Regions from separate parts of the Homo sapiens genome. Here all the other regions are linked to region 1. The links are contacts of gene promoters, found by promoter capture Hi-C in blood cells and fetal thymus (Javierre and others, 2016). All regions are on one chromosome and are shown on one strand. The core of a region is centred on a gene start or on the middle of the fragment in contact, and the rest is flanking DNA. Distances in the headings are between cores, read along the strand shown.

Region 1 (2,984 bases), core at 1-2,500:
GCAGCTGCCGCAGCAGATGGTGGCGTCGCCGCCGTCGAAGCGCTCGGGACACTGGAAGCCGATGCGCCAGACGCCCTGCGCGTCCAGCCAGCCGTGGCAGTACTCGCCGCTGGCCCTCGCCCCCGCCGCCAGCAGCGCAGCCAGCAGCAGCTGCAGGAGCGAAGCGGCGTTCCAGGATGAGGAGACGGACGAGCGGCGAGCGCCCCACATGGCACCACCCTGGGCGCGGACAGCGCGTCTCCAGAGAGCGCAGGACGGTCTCCGAGAAGTCGTGGCCCCGGCGACCCCCGGGCCTCGTCACTGACTGTCCCGCGGCGCTTTCCGCGCGGGCCACTCCCCTCTGCCGCGACGCCCAGGAGGCGACGACGCCGGGCCCTAGGTCCAGGAGCTCCTAAGCCATCCCCGTCCTCAGCCGGTGGCCCGGTCCCCTTAGGGACTGCCTTATGAGTTGCACTCGCTGATGGAAATCTCGGGATGCAGTCAGAAGGCCCCCGGGGCTGTCGTCCGGAAGCCTCTGGAGGTTTCACTGGCAACCGGACCCTCCCTGAGCATCCCCGAAGGGATGCTCACTCGAGCCGAATGACCGCTGGGCGCGCCGCCGCGGACCTGGAGCCAGGGCTCTGCGCAGGGTTTAAGCCTCAGGGTCCCGCGCGCGAATCAGGGCCCGTCTCCCCTCCTTTATTCCCTCCTCGGGCGGGTAGAAGGGGCGAAGGCGGGCAGTGCACGCAAGGCTCTGGGCAGCAAGTGACGCAGCCGGCCGCGCTCAGCCTCCTCTGCCCCGAACTTGGTCCGCATGGCTCCGGCCGGGCCGCCCGGGCAGCCCACGGGGGTGCAGCCCCGACGCTCCACTCGGCGGGGCCGACGGCCAATCTTCCCAGCACGTCGCCGAGGGAGCGCTCCTGACCCCGGGAACGTCCAGGACGCAGGCGAGGGTCCTGCGCGCCCCCAGCCGCAGTCCCGGGAGCCTGCCCAGCTGGCGGCGGCCGCGGCTGCTGCTGGGCGCGGATCCAGGCGGGCGGCTCGCCCCGGTTCCCCTTCTCCGCCTCCCCGGCTGCAGCGCGGTCCCACAGGAGCCCGGCAGCCTCCGGCCGGCTCTCCCTCTCCCGGTCGCTGCCTCGCCCTCGGGAGGTGTGCGCACCGATGGAAGCCTCCCACGGAAGTTTCTTTCCTCCGGGCTACGGGAGAAGCCGAGCGCAGCAGCCGCCCACAGCCTCGCCTCGCCCCGCCCGGCGCCAGACCAGCTCCGACTCCGCTCGCTGCCGCGCTGAGCCGCGCTCTTATAGAGGCCGGCGGCTCCCCGGCGCGCATGCGCGCTGCGCGGCTCCCCCCCACCCCCGACCTCAGGGACGCCCGCGGGCGCCGGGCAGCCCCTCACTTTCCTACCCCGGGCAAGGAGAAAGGTGTGGCCAAGGGCGGGGTCTGCCTGCTGGAATAGGCGCGGGAGGAAACCCAACCTAAGCAATCCAGGCCTCGCTAACACAAATAACAATAATAACGGAAGAAACTCAACTTGCTTTGTGAAGATCTTTGGCATTCAACATTCGGTTCGATTCTGCAAACTTCTCAAGGGATTATGATTACTTTCCACTCTGCAGATCATAAAATCGCCACTCAGATGAACTCTCTCGGCTTCCAGCAGCTGATGTCCTGGCCACGGTTGGTCCCAGGCCCTGTGCAGGAAGAGCACCGATGTTTGTGGCAGGGTTCACACGCCTAGGGCTGTGTTTGGTGGACTGGAGGCCTCCACCACAAGGTGGAACGGAGAGAGTTCAGCAAAGATGTCACACATTCGGCCACGGTGTGGATGATCTGTGTCCCTTTTTCTTTCTATATTTGGGTGTGGTGATTTATCGGATTCCAGCAGGAAAGTGCCTCCGTCCAACATGTGGCCTTAGTGGTTTAGACAGCTGCAGTCAGGAAGAAAACAAGGTTCAGACAGACCAGAAATTCAGCTTTGATGAAGGAGAAATTAATAGCTTCTCTCTTGCAGAAGCTGGAACAACAGGTGCTGATGTTATTAAAGCAGCAGTGCTTATTTTTAAAGGAACGAATGCCCCTTCCCACACCGTCTGGGAGTCAGCAGACCTGAATTCTAGACCCAGCCCTACTAGCAGGGAATCACTGCGTTTTTCTGGTCTCAGTTTCTTCATCTATAAAGTGGAGCATAGGATGTGACGATCACTAAGGTCCCTTTCAAGTCCATGACTTCAGAACACAGGCAGTTTTATTCACAGCAAAGACACTCAGGTTCAAGCAGCCATTGGATGCTTGTGTATGCCTGGTTAATGTGAAGATTCAGACATTGTTGATTATTCTTCCACTTGCCCCAACAATGTCAAATCCAAGAAAAAAAACCCTACCCTATGTCCCTGCTCCCCAACACACACCTTATTCTTTTCACTAAACCTCTCTCCAAGCATTGCACTTTGTTTTCTTGCAGTTTTTTGGTTGTGTATCGTTTTAAGCTACACAAAATTATATACTTTAAATGCACTATTCACCAAATGTCTTAAGCTAGTAAGCTAAAAAAAATTTCAATGTCAAGAAATCATTCATTCAAGAAATACACGCCATGCACTTACAGTGTACTGTGCTCTGTGCTGGGTACTGGGACTCATCAAGAAGCCAGACAGCATGGCCATTTCCTTCAAATAGGGCCTAAAGTCTCCAGGGTAAAATACAGAAATCAGACAAAAAGACAAAGAACTGAATAAGCAAAGAGAATGCAAGTATGATCAAAGCTCTTACCCACAATGAGAACAGCATCAATTTAAGCACATAATCTAGGTTAGGGTGGGGAAGGAGGTCAGAAAAATCATCAAAGGAGTAACACTTAAAAAGAGACCAGAAGAAGCCAAGGGAAGATTGAGTTTTTCAGAATGAGTCATTTTCTTAGAAGACACCATTAGCCAACATTTATTGAGAGCTTACTATGGGCTAGGCACCACGCTAAGAATTTCATGTGCATGGTTTCATTTAATCCT
Region 2 (2,984 bases), core at 136-2,635, 500 kb before region 1:
TAGTGTTTTTTGTTGTTGTTGTTTTGAGACGGAGTCTTGCTCTGTCGCCCAGGCTGGAGTGCAGTGGTGTGATCTCGGCTCACTGCACCCTCCACCTCCTGGGTTCAAGCAATTCTCCTGCCTCAGCCTCCTGAGTAGCTGGGACTACAGGTATGTGCTAACATGCCTGGCTAATTTTTGTATATTTAGTAGAGACGGGATTTCACCATGTTGGACAGGCTAGCCTCGAACTCCTGACCTCAGGCAATCTACCCGCCTCGGCCTCCTGAAGTGCTGGGATTACAGGTGTGAGTCACCACGCCTGGCCAGGGTTGTTTTATATTAACATATTTACTTACCATTTCCAGGTCTCGCTCTTCATTTCTTCCTTTGGATTTAACAGCTGGTGTCATTTCTTTGCTTCATGTATCTTCATTCTCTCCTCACTCCTTTGCACTGTCATATATATTACATCTGTATATAAGTTCAACAATGCAATTTTATGATGCTTTTAGCAATTGCTTTTTTAAAATTGGGAATATATAATTATACTATCTTTTATAAATCCTGTAGAATTATCATTACTAGTGTCCTTTGTTTTTGTGGATTTTAATTACTGTCTGGTATTTCTTTCATCCTGGAGAACTTCTTTAGTATTTCTTGTATTTGTAATTGTCAGGTAGATATTTGTTTATACCTTACAGATATTTGTAACTATTGGAACTTAGAGATCCTATTTAGAAACTCCTTAATTCTACAGGAGAACAAGAGAGCAAAGTAATATGTCAGGAAGAAAAGCAACCAGCAGGAAAAGTGGAAGGGTTGGTAGTGAGTAGGAAGTGAAGGGATTGTGGAAAGGTAAAATTACTGGCCAGCATATGCCTGCTCCCCCTGTACCTTCCCAGCTCCTTGTCTTTCCATCACAGCCACGCTTCAAAACTCTAAATTGGAATCAGACTACCACCATTTGATGTAATTTCCTGGGAAAAAACCTAGTAACTATGGTTTGGAGCCATTACAAATTATCAGTCTCCCTCCAATCCCAGCCTTCTGCTATCTTTATTCTCATTCTAGTTCCCTTCACAGCTTTAATATCAGTTAAACGCTGTTGCAACCTTCTCCTTAAGCCTCTTGCTAAGTTAAGAAGATCTCACTACTTTACCCTTCAAGCAGAAGATCATGGCTGTCAAGGAAAGAACTTTCCCTTTGATACCCCCAGACCTTGTCCCCCTCTCCCTCCCCCATTCTCTGTTCCTCCTGGAGCTGATGCTGCCTCTGCTGTGGACTCCATCCCCTAGGGTCCTGTTCCATCCTTAGGGAACTTGTTCCGTCCAGATATCCCTTCTCTTATCTTTAGCTGGGCTCAAGCCTTCTCTCTCTTTGTCTGCTTCTCTTGTTCACACTTTTGTCCATCTTTCCAGCTCTTTGGAGTATCCCCAATATACACGTACCTTAGTGAGCTTGTAGGTGTTCCTTACAACCATTTCAAAGGCCTGTCTTCTTTTCTACATTCTTTCAAGTTTGCTTCTTTTCTCTGTTCTTCAAAACTTGAAAGCAGCATTTCTTCTTCTGGATGGCCTTCAGTGACCATGCCTTCCCATTAGAAAGCCTTCTGTGTTGGTTCCCGCTACGTCCTGTGAGCCTCTCTTTAGCGGATGCATCCTGCTGTGCAGTCGCATTGTGGGGCCTGTGTGCCTCCTACAGAAAGCAGCCTTTGAACTCACGGTTCCTGACATGCAGGAGGTGCTCAATAACTATTTTAACATGAATCTCTAAATGAGCCAATAGACTTTGGTTGTGAACACCTTTCAGATACTCTGGTTTCCTTCCACAGACACCACCTCAGATAATTTTGGATACAACCTACTGACGTTCATCATCTTATACAACAATCTTATTCCCATCAGTCTGTTGGTGACTCTTGAGGTTGTGAAGTATACTCAAGCCCTTTTCATAAACTGGGTGAGTATTAAAGCAGAGTTGAATCACTATTTTCCAATGCTATTTCAGAGCCTTTGGCATTTAATTGAGCACTCAAAAAAGAAGAACTATATTCATTTACCATTAGGTCCAGGGGCTTAAACTGGCCATACAAAGAACTGGCCAGGGATCACCAGTGAGGGTGTTTTTGGGGAATGGAAGGGCAGTGGTACCTATTCAAGGCGTTGTTGTGAGGATTGGTCAGAGAATGGGGTGGAATGCTGAGCCAGTGCCTGTCATCTGGCTGCACCTGCTATTCACGCTTTTAACATCTAATTAAGGCTGAAGAAAAGGCCTCTTGGGTGTGTTTACTATAGTGGTCACTCGCATATCAAAATTCATTGTGATAGTCAACTTGGATTTGATTGTAAGGGTGGAGATAAGATATTTAAAGGACTGCCATGGCTCTTAAGTAGTGGACTTTAGCAGCCAGTATTTGTAGACCAGGCACTTTGATGTGCATTTTTATTTGATCTTCACAGCAATCCCGTCAGCAAGGTGAGAATCATGAGTTAGTCTAGGTTGTGAAATGATTATTTTGAAATCAAATCATATCTATATAAATATAAATCATGTGTGTGTGTGTGTGTATGTGTGTGTGTGTGTGTGTGTGTGTGTGTGTGTGTGTATTTCTTTTTTAGATGAAGTCTTGTGCTGTCACCCAGGCTGGAGTAAAGTGGTGTGATCTTAGCTCACTGCAACTTCCATCTCTTGGGTTCAAGCGATTCTCATGCGTCAGCCTCCCTGAGTAGCTGGGATTACAGACATGCACCACCATGCCTGGCTAATTTTTGTATTTTGAGTAAAGACAGGGTTTCACCATGTTGGCCAGGCTGGTCTCGAACTCCTGACTTCAAGTGATCTGGCCACTTCGGCCTCCCAAAGTGGTGGGATTACAGGCATGAGCCACTGCGCCCAGCCAAAATCAGCATTTCTATTAAAATAAAAGGGTTTTAGATTACCCATTCTTAGCTTCTTTTCTGTGTTAATCTGAATGAAGAATTAATGGTATATATTTTCTGAAA
Region 3 (2,984 bases), core at 272-2,771, 460 kb before region 1:
ATGTTGTCTCTTCCTCCACTTCAGGGTATTCCTGCCGATTGGTATCGCAGAATATGGCCCTTATCCTATTGAAGGAGGACTCTTTGGATGTAAGTAGTTTTTCAAAGTTGTATTTGCTTTGCTATAACAGTATTAAACTCTTTCTTTCTACTATCATTGATAATCAGGGATCATGTTTTGCTAAAAAACAGTTATGAAAAAACTGTGTTTATTTTCTGTTTATATTTATATTTAAGAATGGATGTCAGAAAGCCTTATCTTTAAACATCAAAACAGTAAGCTTAGAATATTGCCTCATGATAATACTTTTATTCATCTAGAATTGTGCATTTAAAATGGGATAGTTTTAATCTGATTTAGCTTTAATCATTAAGTATGAAATATTAGTGGAACCTATTATGACCTACATTAAATGGTGATGGTTAATTTCACTATAAGTTACTAAGGAGACATGTATGATTTTCTTTCTAGCACAAACTTTAGAATAAAACTAATATTCAAGTGTTAAGCATTGTTTAAATTTATATAGTGAGGCCAGGTGCAGTGGCTCATGCCTGTAATCCCAGCATTTTGGGAGGCGGAGGCAGAAGGATCGCTTTAACCAAGGAGTTCCAGACCAGCCTAAGCAACACAGCAGGACCTCATCTCTACAAAAAATGGAAAAATTGGCCAGCCGTGGTGGCATATGCCTGTAGTCCCAGCTGCTTGGGAGGCTGAGGCTGGAGAATTGATTGAGCCTGGGATGTGGATGCTACAGTGAGCCGTGATCGTGCCACTGCTTTCCAAGCTGGGTGACAGAGTGAGACTCTGTCTTGAAATAATAATAATACATTCGTATAGTAATAGGATACATGTATACTTAATTCTCTGATGTCCCAATGCTGCCGCATGAACCCACCCCATCATGGCATAAAGCCACTGAACAGACCAGCAGTGGGAGCTGATTTGAGGGTCACCAGCAACCTGTGAAGTGGTTTGATATGAAAATATGAGCTGAACAATGAGATTCCACTTGTCAGAACTTTTAACAAGGGCTTTGTTACTGGCAGGCACCCATAGCACCCTTTCAGGCAGTATATTTAATATTTATATTTAGCCAATGCCAGGGGCAGATGGCACGGTTAATTACTCTTTTAAAGGGAGGCAATAAAGTACAGAGCTTTCTATACTTGCAAATTGAGAGGGCCATAACTCCTATCGTGAACACCAGGATACTCTCTACCCCTTCATGAGACCAAGGGCAGGAGGCAGGGGGAGAGTCCGTAGTTCTGTATGTTTCCAAGGCACCACTGGCAAGAGACCACCCTCTGGCGTGAGTGCTTCAGAATTCATCTCGGTACACCTCCTATCCTTGTTCATGTTACTGCCTGCAGGCAGCCCAGAGTCCCAGGTCATACCTCATCTCCTGGAGTCTAATTCTCACATGCTCTGAGGAAATCTCTCCTCTACCCAAGTGTTTCAGTCTTCCCCCTCTCACACGTCTTTATTTTTCTCCATGGAACCTCTCATCATTGGAAATACTATGTGTGTGTGTGTGTGTGTGTGTGTGTAAATTGTTGTGAAATACATCATTTAAGTGTACAGTTCAGTGGCATTAAGTATATTCATATTGTTGTGTAACCATCACCACTATCCATCCACAGAACTCTTTTCATCTTCCCAAACCAAAATTCTGTGCCCCTTTGAACAACTACTCTCCATTCCCACACCTACCTCATCCCCTGGCAGTCATTCTGCTTTGTGTCTCTATGAATTTCACAGCTGTAAGTACCTCGTGTAAGTTCAATCATATAGTATTTGTGATTTTTATGACTAGCTCATTTCATGTAACATAATGTCTTCAAGGTTCATCCATATCGGACCATGTGTCAGAATTTCGCTCCTTTTTAAGGCTGATTAATATTCCATTGCATGCCTATACTACATTTTGTTGATTCATTAATCCATCAGTGGACAGTTGAGTAGCTTATAACTTTTTTTTTTTTTTTTTTTTGAGACGAAGTCTCACTCTCTTGCCAGGTTGGAGTGCTGTGCCAAACGAGGCTCACCGCAACCTCCAATTCCTTGGTTCAAGTGATTCACCTGCCTCAGCCTCCTGAGTAGCTGGGATTACAGGCATGCGCCACCATGCCTGGCTAATTTTTGTATTTTTAGTAGAGATGGAGTTTCACCATGTTGGCCAGGATGGTCTCAATCCAACTTTTGACTATTGTGAATAGTGCTGCTATAAATGTGGATATACAAATATCTTTTTGAGATCCTGCTTCTAATTTTTGGGGACATATACCCAGAAGTGGAGTTGCTGAATCATATGGTAATTTTACATTTCACTTTTTGAGGAACAGCCATACTGTTTTTTTACAGCAGCTGCATCGTTTTATATGGTTTGTGATTTTTCCATATTCTTGCCAACACTGGTTTTTTTTTTTTTAATAGTAGCCACTCTAATGGGTTTGAGAGTGGTATCTCATTGGAGTTTTGATTTGTATTTCCCTAATTATTAGTGACAATGGACATCTTTACATGTGCCTTTTGGTCATTTGTATATCTTCTATGGAGAAATGTCTATTCAATCCTTTGCCCATTTTTTAATCAGGTTTTTTTTCAGTGTTATGACATAATTTGTATTTTTTCTACCTCCCTTTAGTCCCTTAGACTGTAAGGTCCATGGTTAAAAACCTGTTTAAAAAAACTGGGCATCTCCACCTTCAAGACCTTGCTTTGCACATATTATGCACTCAGTAAATGTTTGAATGAATGAACAAGCTTAAGATAATTTTCTAGTCATCAATAAGAATTTCTATTTAAAAGTCATGCTGATGAGATAGTGGCTACAGTAGCCATGAGGGGCTGAGTACAAGTTGATGTTACTAAGAAGTAGAAAATGAGTAAGCCAAAACACCGCATCGGTGGACAGGAGAGCAGAGTGCTCCTGCAGAAAGGCTCCTAGAACCCTTGGATGTGTGCACATACCTTATGAACAC
Region 4 (2,984 bases), core at 271-2,770, 440 kb before region 1:
GCATAGCTCATAACCTGAAACACTGATGAACTTTCCATTTACATAGCTGTCTCCTGCCTTTCCTATTTGATGTGCCATAGGAGGTGAACCATGAAAGGTAGTAGCTGTTGCTGACACTGCTTCTGTTTGAATGATTATTTTCTTTTAAATTTTCCAATCTTAATTGTACGATTTAAGAACATGTTGAAGAAGAATGATTCATTGGCAGGTAAAAACTAAAGCCTACTCTATAAGTTGGAACATGGTTATTATTTCTTAGAGATTAGCTCTCTACTCTGCTTTCAATAGGGAAGTTCTTGACTTATTAAATTGCCAGTCTCCTTCATCCAGCTGAATGGTCTAGTTCTTCTACTTAAATTTAAATTATAAGCCTACTGGAAAGTATTTTTGTCCAACTGAGCATATTCATTTCGTTATTCAGGTACTTTTGCCCCTTATTACCAGGAAATTAAATGTAAAAATAGTGTGAAACAAAATGATTGGTATACTTAAACACCCCCAGACACCCATCCACCCACACATTTTCTATAGAGGGTTAATGAGAAGTGAAAATGTTTTTCTGTGCTATCCATTGTAATAGTTGCTAGTCACATGTGGTTATTAATCACTTGAAACATAACTAGTTTGGTTGAGGAACTATCAATTTTAAGTAATTTAAATTTTAATAGCCACATGTGACTAGTGGCTACTGTACAAGGCAGCAGAGTGTAGATAATTTTCAAGGGTCCCCGACCCCCAGGGCACGAAACAGTACTGGTCCATGGCCTGTTAGGAACTGGGCCACACAGCAGGAGGTGAGTGGCAGGCGAGCTCCCATTTACCACGTGAGCTCCACCTCCTGTCAGATCAGCAGTGGCATTAGATTCTCACAGGAATGGGAACCCTATTGTAAACTGGGCATGTGAGGGATCTAGGTTACATGCTCCTTATGAAAATTTAACTAATGCCCGATGATCTGAGGTGGAACAGTTTCATCTTGAAACCATCCCCCACAACCTGTGTTAAAATTATCTTCCACAAAACGGGTCCCTGGTGCCAAAACAGTTGGGGACTGCTGCCCTAGGACAAGGGCTGGCCAGCTCTGGCGAGTGCGACAAATCCAGCTCACCACTTGTTTTTATAAATAAAGTTTTATTGAAACACAGCCATGCACACTGATGTACTGTCAATGATCACTTCAATGCTACAAAGGCAGAGTTGAGTACAGATGCCCCTCGACTCATATTGGGTTTACTTCTGGATAAACCCATTGTAAGTTATAAGTTGAAAATAACGTTTAGTACTCTGATAAACCGATTGTTAAGTCAAAAAATCGTAAGTTAAACCATCAAAGTCAGTGACCATCTGTAGTTGCAACACAAACCGCATGGCCCACAAATTGTAACATATTTACTATCTGGTTCTTTACCAAAAGTTTAGTGACCCCCTGCCCTGTGTAATCAGATGGAAACTGACTCAATTCCAGTTCCATTGCCAGCTGTAGCTATATTTCTGAAACAGTGTTTTTAAAAATGTTAACAAGCATTTTTGGGAGAATTGGATCTATGGCTAATTTGAGAAGATGCAGAGTTGTAAATAATGAAGTAGATTCATCTACTACACTTTTTACACAATCTTTAATCCCCTTATTTCACTATAAATCATGCAGAGGTTTATTATATAGAATATTTTGTTAACCAAATTTATTTGACCAGTGATTTTCTTTTTTGGTAACTCTTGTTATAAGGGACACAGACTTAGAAATGCTGCTTTTTAAAAATAGTGAGTTTTCCTCTTAATAGATGATAGTAAAATAAGAAGCATGTGAAAGAGAATCCTCAGAGTAGGACAAAGGAGAAACGGATTGAATTAGTCTATTTTGTGTTGCTATAAAGGGAATACCTGTGCTTGGGTAATTTATAAGCCAAAGAGGCTTATTTGGCTTATGGTTCTGGGACTATACAAGAAGCATGGCACCAGCATCAACTTGGCTTTTGGTGAAGGCTTTTGTGCTGTGTAAAAACCTGTAGATAAGGTCAAAGAGGGAACAGGTATGCCAAGAGGGCCTGAACCCCACAATGGGGAGCAAATCTCCACATGAGATTTGGGGTGACAAAGCATATCCAAACCATAGCGTGCATATTTAATTTCTGGGTTTCATTAAAGCAACAGATATTTGAGTACTTTTAATAGGTCTGGCAGTTTGCCCAGGTTGTAGACATAGGATTACATGACAGTATGTTCTCTACTCTCAAGTTTCTGTTTGTGCTGTTATAAATTTGAGCAGTCATCATTAAATCTCAGCTATACATTTAAGTTCTGTTTGTGACAGTTGCCACAAAGGAAACGTCTAAGGTGCTAAGTATATATGGTTAGGAAAAATCTTGCAAACTTTTTCTGTAAAGGACTAGATAGTAAATATTTTAGGCTTTGTGTGCCATATGCTGTAGGTGTCACCTATTCAATTCTCCTGTTGTAATTAGAAAGCAGCTGCAGATGACACATAAACACACATCACACAGACAAATATGTCAGTGTGATTATGCCATACATACATCTATATCTATCTGCATTTGCATACTTCTCAAGCACTTTTCAAAAATGACCATACAAATCATAAAGTGTTAACAGAATTTTGGAGAACTGATTTTCATGCAGCTCATGTTCTGTGAGTGCTATGCCCTTGCCCAAGACCTTCAAAAAGGTCATCATACAAATCTTATATTCTTGGAAAATTAAAAACCTATACTTACAAATCCAGTGTCAAAGAGGAAATCACATTGGAAATTAGAAAATACTTAGAATTGAATGATTAAAAAATACTTTTGCATCAAATTCATGGGATATGAATATCCCAAAGAGGGAAATTTTTGTAGCCTTACCGATTAGATTACAAAATAAAAAAGACTTAAAATGAACAAGCTATACATACAATTTAAAATGTTAATAAAAGAGCAAGAGAAGATCAACAAAACCAATAGTAAGATTCTTCAAAAAAACTAATG
Region 5 (2,984 bases), core at 176-2,675, 430 kb before region 1:
TGTAGTGCCAGCTACTTGGGAGACTGAGGTGGAAGGATCACTTGAGCCCAGGAGTTTGAGGTTGTAGTGAGCTATGGTCATGCCACTGCATTCCAGCCTGGGCAACAGAGTGAGACTTAGTCTCCACAATAGCAACAACAAAAAGCCAGGACTATGATTTTTTTTTTTCAAAAGTTCTTCTCAGTGTCAGCTCAGAAGTGATAAAAGGTTTTCCACCTTTTTTTGTGTGTTTTTTATTAAGAAGAAAAGATTTGAAAGGTAAATAGAAAAATCTTGTAAATTCACCAAATCACCAAATACGTGTTTTGAAACATAGTAGTTTTTCTAATTTATCAGTCTCATTTTCTAATTCTATCCTTATGACCAATATCTCTGCCTTTGCTCTGGATTTATCACCTTCATGGACTTTTGGACATGGGAGAATTTTATCCTGATGGAAGTAAAACTGCACGGACTTCTCTTGTGTTATAGAAATATGTGTGTGTGTGTATACGTGTATATATACACATGCATATAGAGATATATATGCATATCTAGATGAGCATAAATGCATAAATTATGCATAGATTATAAATGCATAAATTATGCATAGATATATGCATATACCTATATATGCATATATCTATAATGCATGTATGTATGTGTGTGCATATATATACATGCATAAATATAAATATACATATATCTATATTGTGTGTGTGTGTGTGAGAATGGAGTGCCATCCTTCCCCTTCCTGGGCTGTAAGCTTGTTTGTTAGTTAAGACTTCATGGTAGAAACTGGTGTATTCATCTTTAAAATATTTTGCACATTGGTGGTGCTTAAACGGCTTACTGAATTGGACTCTCCAAGAAGGGTATTTCTTAATAGAAAACTGTCTTGCTTTATTTGTTTTCGTTTACACTTAACTAGTTGACATAACCCTCAGGACAAGGACTGTGGGCATTTCTTTCCTTGCTGGTCTTACAAGCTACTGATATATGGCATTTATGACTTTGGCAGAGATGGTGGGTTAAATCAAGGGGCCAGGATTCCTTCATCACCTAAGGACTTGTGGTTTATAAATACAGAAGAGGAAAAGGAGACAAATGAAATTACAGAAATGGCCTCAGCTTGATTGAGTTATAACCTTCACTGTCTGATTTTTATAACTCTAGGCAAGTACTCTACCTTTTTTATTTCACTTCAATGTAATTTATATTTTGCTAAGTTGTTAGGTGGCCCAGTTAACCTTAACAAGATACTTAATGTTAACTAGTTTTCTGAATATTTTCAATGGTGCCTCTATTAGAGAGTATTGTATGTAGGTGAACAATGTATTTCCCAAGCACAAATTACAGTATTTCCTCAAATTATATGTTCTAAAGGCAATTGAGGTATGTATGTAATTATGTGTTAATCAAGTTAGTGATTTGCTATTAATTGGGTAAGTACAAGTTGTGTGAGTTACACTTGCACAGGGGTGGTCTTGTCTCTGAGCTGCTTTCAGAAAAATAGTTCAACCAAGTAAATTGATTAGTACAATTTTCCTATGACCAATCCTCTTAAGTTTTTCATTTCTATTTCAACTCCTGTAAGTTTAACAAGATTATCATTTTAAAAGAAATTCCTTCCATCTGCAGATGTGTGTTGCTTCTGATATATTTGAATCAGCTGAAATCTAAAAGTTTTTTACATAGGAATTATCTCTAAAGATATAAAATGGTCTTATTTTTCCTTAATGGTGTTAGGAAAACCTAATAGCAACAATGGATTGTGCATGATCAATTTTATCTAGTCACATTTTGGGGGATCTTTAAGCAAGAATAGGCAACAAGAAAATGTGCATTTAGTGTTGGAAGGGATGAGAGATTAGTTGTGGATCTGAGGATTATTCTTGCCTCAACAAGTGGAGAATTGGAGATACTCTTCATGAGGAGTGACACTCAAGTTTGAGCCCCGTAATCAAGAGACAGGAGAAATGTTAATAAGAGAAAACCTTTTATTTTGTCAGATCCCTTTTTGAGGAAGAACAAATGCAGTTTTTGAAAGCATTAAGCATTTAGAAAAGGGTGCAGAAATGTAGTAGGACAAAATGTGCCTTAAAACATACAGCCTCTTTATGTCCAAAGCTTCCACACAACGTGAAGTAATTGTCTGAAATTACAAGTGCTACTATAGTGATTGAACTCTAGCTGCTAATTGAGCCTTCAGGTTTAAAAATACACAGGCCTCAGCAATTCAAAGATTATTAAATTACACCTTCTTGTGGGAACCAACATCAATGTGTTTGAGCAGTGAGTAGTGAAGGTCTTTGGGGAGGCAGGGGCAGAGGGTGTCTCATTACAGCGTTTGCCACTGCAGATCTCTTGAGGGTTGTTGCTTTTTCTCAAGACGAAAGATTTTGTTAACACTTCATTCCACAGAATGTTGAAAAAAGTGGAGCTCTCTTGCATCACATGACTGTTACTGCAAGTTTTGTGTTGATCTCTGAATAACTAGAAATTTCAAAAATTTACTTATGAACCAAAAGGCATAATTGGTGTATAACTCAATTATTTTTATTTAATCCTCACAACAGCCTATGATGTGAATGGCTGTGTTCCCATTTTACGGATGAATATGTTAGGCTCAGAAGTGACCTGTCAAAGGTCACACAACTAAGTAGAATTGCTGAGACTGCATCTACTGGCTCTGAAGTTTGTTTGTTTGTTTTTTTAAACTATGTCTTAGCCATCTGATGTTTCAAAGGTTATACAGTCAAAATTGAATCAATGTGATTGTAATGTGCCTTTCCAAAAAAGAAGATGAATACTGGATACTCACTGAACACAAGTGGTTTATTCTTTCGTTCAGCAAATTTATTGTGCAACTTTTGGGTGCTAACCACAATTTTAGGCAGCTGGGAATACACGATTAGAAAGGATCTAGAAGATTCCTTCCTGTCTTGGTCAATTTTCTGTTGCTATAACAAAATGCCACAGATTGGGGTAACTTACAAAGAAAA
Region 6 (2,984 bases), core at 218-2,717, 400 kb before region 1:
TATTCTTGATCTGCTGTTGGTTGAATCCACAGATGTGGAACCCATGAATATGGCGGGCTGACTATTATGACTGTATTCTTGCAGTTCATGGAATTTCTTTAAGAGGATTTTTCTAAATTTTTTGTCATCATTTTATTGATCTCCCTTTCATTAGGGTCAATTTTTGGAGCTTTGTCAGTTTCTTTTGGAGATGTCATGATTTCTTCCTGAGTCCATGTAATCCTTGTGTCCTTGCGTTGGTGTTTGTGTACTTGAGATAACAACCTTTTCCAGCTTTCACAGGCATTCTTTGGAACAGACCCTTATTATGTAGTTTAACCTGCAATTCTGGTTGGGCTAGCTGGTAACAGCCTTGGGCAGGCAGAGCTTATTTTGGAGTTCTCTAAATGTCTGGGGTGCTGCCTTTACCTTGAATTCACATGGGGCAGCTGGCTGGACTGAGCTTCACAATCAGGCTGAGCTGCTGGATGGGCACTACAGTAGCCTCAGATCAGGCCAGGGTGTGTTCTCTGCTCAAGTGGTACCACTATTTGAGTTCTGCAGTTGGCCAGGGTTGTGGGAGGGGCCTCAAAGTTAAGTGGAGACACTGAGATGGACAAGACCAGATGCTATGCACAATAGAAATGCATGGTTGAAGTTTTCCTTCCTGCCTGTGTGGGGCCTTAGGGTGAGTTAAGTGTTGAGGTTAAGTGCTGTGTAAACTTTCCCTCTGCTGTCCCTGCTCTTCAATGAAGTTTGCTGCATTGGTTGTCTCCCTGCCTGGGTAGGGTCTTGGGGTAAGCTTTGAGGTCACACCAGGTGTTGTTAGACTCCCAGGTGTGGCACAACTAGCTTTCCATTTTGCTGCAATTCCCTGTGGTGGTTGTTGTCCTCCATGGGCAGGGCCCTCAGGTAGAGTCCAAGGCTGGTCCTGGATTGTGCCTGTCTAGGAATTCAAGCCAGGTAGCACTTTCCACCTCTTCCAGGAGTGATCAGCTCAGCTTTGCCTGTGAGCTACACTGTTAGCTGGTACCTCTAATCAGGTACCTTTGCTGCCAGGTACACAAAGCTACCACCAAGATCTGTACACTCATTGCTTTGTTTCCACCTGACCCCAGGTGGTCTAGTTGTGCTGTATTCCGCTGTGTTCCCTTTGAGGTGAGACCAGAGTGGACTTCCTAAGAAGCATCTTGGAATGCTAGGGAAGCTGGATATTTGCTTTCGGGTTCTCTTTTCCCTCTGTAGAAACCATGGTTTTTGGGAAATCCCGTCTGTGAGGCCCTGGGCCAACTTGAGGGATGGGGTGGGGCAATGTTGTCAAAGTGAGATAGTTTCTCTCACCCTTTCCATGCGGCTTTTATTCCATGCTGTGGACCACACAAGTGACTCTGACTTATTCCTAACTTGGGGAGTTTTCACCAAGGCGTTCTTGTCTGTGGATAGTTGCTAGTTGAACTTTTTGTGGGGTAGGGGGGTAGTGAAACCTGTGACCTCCTATCCCACCATCTTGCTGATGTCGTCTGAATTCTCTTTGTACATTAGTTTTGTGATCTAGGAACTCTGAACTCTCTTATTAATTCTAATATGTAGATTATTCTGGATTTTTAAATGTAAACAAAAATACCACTTCTGAATAACAGTTTGGATATACCCTTCCAGTTTTTATGGTCTATTTCTTTTTCTCGACCTATCTAGCTTACTAGAACCTCCACTGCAAAATAGAAGTAGTGTTGGGGCCAAACAGAAGTAGCGTTAAGGGTACTTCAGCTTTTTTTCCAATTTGAATTCTACTAATGTTTTACATTTAAGGATGATGCTTATTGTAGATTTTCTGTAAGTACTGTTTATCAGGTTATTATGAACATTGTTTCGAGTGTATCAACTAATTTTCCTGTATTTATTGACATGATCTTATGGTTTTTCTTTTTTAATCTTTTGATTTGTGAACTACATTCAATAATTTCCCAATGTTAAACCAATCTAGCTTTCCTAGAAATAGCCAACTTGGTCATGATGTGTTACTTTTTAAAATACATTATTTGATTTTGTTTTAGGTATTTGTTTAAAATTTTATATCCATATTTGAATGTAATTTGCCTATAGTGTTCATTTTTCTGCATTGTCCTTATTGGATTATGGTACCACAGTTACATTATCCATAATAATGAGTTAGGGAAGCTTTCCCTCTTTATCTCCTTTGACTTAGTTTATGTAAAGCTGAAATTATTTCTTCCTTGAATGCTTGATAGAACTCACTTGAAATTTTCTTTGTGAGAAAATTTAAACTACTAAGTCAACTTCTTTAATTATTATAAGATTATTCGGCCAGGCGTGGTTGCTCAAACCTGTAATCCCAGCATTTTGGGAGGCCAAGATGGGTGGATCATGAGGTCAAGAGATCGAGACCATCCTGGCCAACATGGTGAAAACCCATCTCTACTAAAAATACAAAAATTAGCTGGTCGTGGTGGCGTATGCTTGTAGTCCCAGCTACTCGGGAGGCTGAGGCAGGAGAATCACTTGAACTCGGGAGGCAGAGATTGCAGTGAATCAAGATCACGCCACTGCACTCCAGCCTGGCGGCAGAGTGAGACTGTTTCAAAAAAAAAAAAATTATTCATACATTCTCATTTCTTAGAAGTCAGGCTGTTATAGTAAGCTTTTTTTTCTGCAGATTTATTTTATTAAATTTTCAAATTTATTGGCCTAAAGTTGTTCACACCTATCATCTTTTTTATTTATGACTATAGCATCTCTCAGTTTTATTCAAGTTATATATTTCAGATTTTATTTATTAGAGAATTGTGATCAGGGGAGTTTATTAGATTTTTCAAAGGACAACCTTTTGGCTTTGTCCAACAGACATTTTAGGTATGTGAATTATACCTGTTAATTTTGCTCTTATCTATTGTGGTATTAGTATTTTTCTTGTCAGTGTCTTCTAAAGTATGTCTTTATATATTTAAGGTATTCATTATTTAACTGATATCTTGGTTATAAATAAT
Region 7 (2,984 bases), core at 363-2,862, 360 kb before region 1:
ATTCATTTTTGAAGAGAGACTCTTGCCATCTGCAAATCGGTAGAAATGCATCCAGGTTCTAGAAGTTTTCATCTCTCCTGGCTTGTTTATTAACTCCAAAGTGATTAACAGTGGAACCACCTTTTGAATCCTGGGTACTCCTAGGTTGAGCAGGGCTGCACTTCCACCGTCTTTCAGGGTTCACCAGATGAAACTCTGAGGATCCTCTATGAATCAGCAGACACACAACATCTCCTGAGATTATAAGGTGGTACTGTCTGTGGTGATTACCTAATTTTAATTTATAAACTGGGAATGCAAAGGCCATGCTGACCTTGCTAAGAAATGTGAAGTTCACAGGAGAACAAAACTGGGGAAAAAGGTAGGGGACAGTCGTCAGTAGCAGTCACTCACTTTCGACATTAAATTATGCGTTTGTTTAATTGTGAAGGAAAATACAATTGTAGAACATGCACCAAAAGCTAGAAATATACAGTTTAATGTTAACACCTAAAAGCAAAATACTAATTAAAGATTTTGGAATATTTTTTATCTTTCTGGGTATGAAACCTCCAGCCCTGACTTTTTATGCCCCTTATAACAGCTAAGTCCATTGTAACTTTCAGTAATTGGCTTTTTATTAAAATAAGAGACTGTAGTATAAATTTTAGCAACTGGACTAAATAGGCATTAACTGGCCCTGGGATCCAACCATAATTTGTAACATCGTTCCTCTGGGAAAATGGATTCTAAGTGCCCAATAACTACCTTACAAATAGACTCTTGAATCATAGTCCATTTGAGAATAAGGAACTGTTTGTGATAGTAATACCTTCAATTGGCTCGCTTGAGAACTGCACAGAAGGGACCTATGTTCCACCACATGTGTGTGGTGAACCCAGCTCGTCTGGGTTTGATCAAAGATTATTGCCGAGTGGGCATGGAAAGTGCAGGAATTAAACTCAAAGTAGAGGCTGGAGACACGTCAAGGGTGGCGTTAGAAGGATGGACCTGGAGGGCTCTTAGTGGTAGGAAGAGGATTTCAATCCCAGAGGCAAAGGAGTGTATCTGAGCAGATGAAGGGCAGGGAGAAGAGAATGGAAGAGTAAGCAGGATTGAGATTGAGAACCAGCCATTTTCAAGCAAAATGTAACTCAAAGTGTACCAGTAAGGCTGAATAGCCCACCAAGAGGTCAGAGAGAGACATCCCTCAGATCTCTCTGTCTCTCTCTCTCTCTCTGTTTTATTTATTTTTATTTTATTTATTTATTTTGTCTGTCACCCAGGTTGGAGTGCAGTGGCACGATCTTGGCTCACTGCAACCTCTGCCTCCCAGGTTCAAGTGATTCTCCCACCTCAGCCTCCCAAGTAGTTGGAAATACAAGGGTGTGCCACCACACTTTTCTAATTTTTGGGTTTTTGTTGTTGTTGTCTGGAGATGGAGTCTTGCTCTGTTGCCCATTTGGAATGCAGTGGCACGATCTTGACTCACTGCAACCTCTACCTCCTGGGTTCAAGTAATTCTCCTGCCTCAGCCTCCCAAGTGGCTGGGATTACAGGCGTGCACCACCACGCACATCTAATTTTTTTGTATTTTTTGTATTTTTAGTAGAGACTGGGTTTTACCACATTGGCCAAGCTAGTCCCTCTCCTCCTCCTGCCAAGGAAGAAGAACCATGTATTGGCATCCAGTCTATCCTCATGTGTGCTGCAGAAATAACCCTAACTGGAGAAAGCTGCCTTCCTAAGATGAGCACCTATGTCTCCATTTATGCTGTGCCCTCTTACAAAAAGCCACAGGCAATGGGCTCCACATTTCAGAGATTTTTATTCCTCACTCTTTCCCTCCTTGGATCCACGCATAAGTCCAGTGGGGAGGCCCATGGGACTTGGCACTGAGCTAGACTGGGCCTCTACTGTAGCACCTGGATGCTCTCCCTGGGCCAAATCTGTGTACCTTGTCTCATCTCTTTGGTGACGTGCTTCTCAAGAGGTTTTTCTGTCCTTCATACACTGACCCCCGGCAGGCACCCCTCTAGAATTTCCCAGACTTACCTGAATTTCCTGGTGAACACACCCAGGCTGCCAAGCTGGCATTTCCCCAGGTCAGGGTAATTTTTTTCTCTCTACCCAAATTCTAAAGGGCAGGCTGTTGTTTTAGATAAGGAAGGCATAGATGTTTTCAGGATGCTTGTTTGAGATTCAGAATTACAAAGCTAATTGACAATAAAAAGTATAAAGTTTATTTATTTTAGAGACAGGCTGTTGCTGGACTGCAGTGGCATGATTATAGCTCACTAAAGCCTCCAATTCCTGGGTTCAAGCGATCTTTGCACCTCACCCTTCTGAGTAGCTGGGACTACAGGCATGCACCATCATGCCTGGCCAATTATGTGCCTATATGTCCCTTTTTTTCTAGGGACAGAGTCTCACTCTGTTGTTTAGGCTGGTCTTGAACTCCTGGCCTCAGGTGATCCTCCCTCTTTGGCAAAAGTGCTGGGATTACAGGCATGAGCCACCATGACTGGCTTCTTTGTTTTTAATAAAAGTCCATTTAACTTTTATGCATAGAACATTATTCTATTAATGTTTCGTCTATTGCAGGCATACCTCAGAGATATTGCAGATTTGGGACCAGTCCATAGCAATAAAGCAAATACTGTAATAAAGCAAGTCACACTATCTTTTTTTTTTTTTGGTTTTCCAGTGCATATAAAAGTTATGTTTACACGGTACTGTACTCTATTAAGTGTGCAACAGCATCACATCTTTAAAAAACCCAATGTGTGTGCCTTAATTTAAAAATACTTTTTACTAAAATACGCTAACAATCGCCTAAGCCTTCAGCAAGTCATAATCTTTTTGTTGGTGGAGGGTCTTGCCATGACATTCATGGCTGCTGGCTGATCAAGGTGGTGGTTGCTGAAGGTTGGGGTGGTTTTGGCAATTTCTCAAAATAAGACAACAATAAAGTTTGCTGCATCTGTTGACTCTACTTTTCACAA

Evidence for each region. Contacts are between HindIII fragments. The CHiCAGO score rates a contact against its expected background, and 5 or more counts as called.
Region 2: a fragment that was not itself captured here is called in contact with the fragment with the promoter of SHISA2 in region 1 in 1 of 17 cell types (megakaryocytes); the score reaches 6.2 in megakaryocytes.
Region 3: a fragment that was not itself captured here is called in contact with the fragment with the promoter of SHISA2 in region 1 in 16 of 17 cell types (fetal thymus, activated CD4 T cells, megakaryocytes and 13 more); the score reaches 23.0 in fetal thymus.
Region 4: a fragment that was not itself captured here is called in contact with the fragment with the promoter of SHISA2 in region 1 in 5 of 17 cell types (naive CD4 T cells, fetal thymus, activated CD4 T cells and 2 more); the score reaches 7.5 in naive CD4 T cells.
Region 5: a contact is called between a fragment that was not itself captured here and the fragment with the promoter of SHISA2 in region 1, in 9 of 17 cell types (fetal thymus, total CD4 T cells, activated CD4 T cells and 6 more). The highest score is 9.0, in fetal thymus.
Region 6: a fragment that was not itself captured here is called in contact with the fragment with the promoter of SHISA2 in region 1 in 6 of 17 cell types (fetal thymus, activated CD4 T cells, naive CD8 T cells and 3 more); the score reaches 10.5 in fetal thymus.
Region 7: a fragment that was not itself captured here is called in contact with the fragment with the promoter of SHISA2 in region 1 in 7 of 17 cell types (fetal thymus, activated CD4 T cells, non-activated CD4 T cells and 4 more); the score reaches 9.6 in fetal thymus.

The regions. Positions count from the first base shown.
Region 1 is chr13:26,050,766-26,053,749 of GRCh38, forward strand. SHISA2 (shisa family member 2) reads right to left here and starts at 1,251. Exons shown (of 2, transcript NM_001007538.2): 1 at 1-1,251. The coding sequence starts at 210. LINC00415 (long intergenic non-protein coding RNA 415) reads right to left here. Exons shown (of 2, transcript NR_146971.1): 2 at 1,511-1,907. The HindIII fragment of the contact is 15,847 bases long and covers 1-2,984 here.
Region 2 is chr13:25,551,980-25,554,963 of GRCh38, forward strand. It overlaps ATP8A2 (ATPase phospholipid transporting 8A2), which reads left to right. Exons shown (of 37, transcript NM_016529.6): 12 at 1,814-1,941. Among named protein-coding and RNA genes, the nearest start is that of ATP8A2, 180 kb to the left of the region's middle. The HindIII fragment of the contact is 6,965 bases long and covers 1-2,984 here.
Region 3 is chr13:25,589,611-25,592,594 of GRCh38, forward strand. ATP8A2 (ATPase phospholipid transporting 8A2) reads left to right here. Exons shown (of 37, transcript NM_016529.6): 24 at 25-89. Among named protein-coding and RNA genes, the nearest start is that of ATP8A2, 220 kb to the left of the region's middle. The HindIII fragment of the contact is 2,486 bases long and covers 279-2,764 here.
Region 4 is chr13:25,606,197-25,609,180 of GRCh38, forward strand. All of the region lies in intron 24 of ATP8A2 (ATPase phospholipid transporting 8A2), which reads left to right. Among named protein-coding and RNA genes, the nearest start is that of ATP8A2, 240 kb to the left of the region's middle. The HindIII fragment of the contact is 4,774 bases long and covers 1-2,984 here.
Region 5 is chr13:25,623,272-25,626,255 of GRCh38, forward strand. All of the region lies in intron 24 of ATP8A2 (ATPase phospholipid transporting 8A2), which reads left to right. Among named protein-coding and RNA genes, the nearest start is that of ATP8A2, 250 kb to the left of the region's middle. The HindIII fragment of the contact is 1,364 bases long and covers 744-2,107 here.
Region 6 is chr13:25,648,861-25,651,844 of GRCh38, forward strand. The region is part of intron 24 of ATP8A2 (ATPase phospholipid transporting 8A2); the gene reads left to right. Among named protein-coding and RNA genes, the nearest start is that of ATP8A2, 280 kb to the left of the region's middle. The HindIII fragment of the contact is 1,376 bases long and covers 780-2,155 here.
Region 7 is chr13:25,692,470-25,695,453 of GRCh38, forward strand. All of the region lies in intron 24 of ATP8A2 (ATPase phospholipid transporting 8A2), which reads left to right. Among named protein-coding and RNA genes, the nearest start is that of ATP8A2, 320 kb to the left of the region's middle. The HindIII fragment of the contact is 4,592 bases long and covers 1-2,984 here.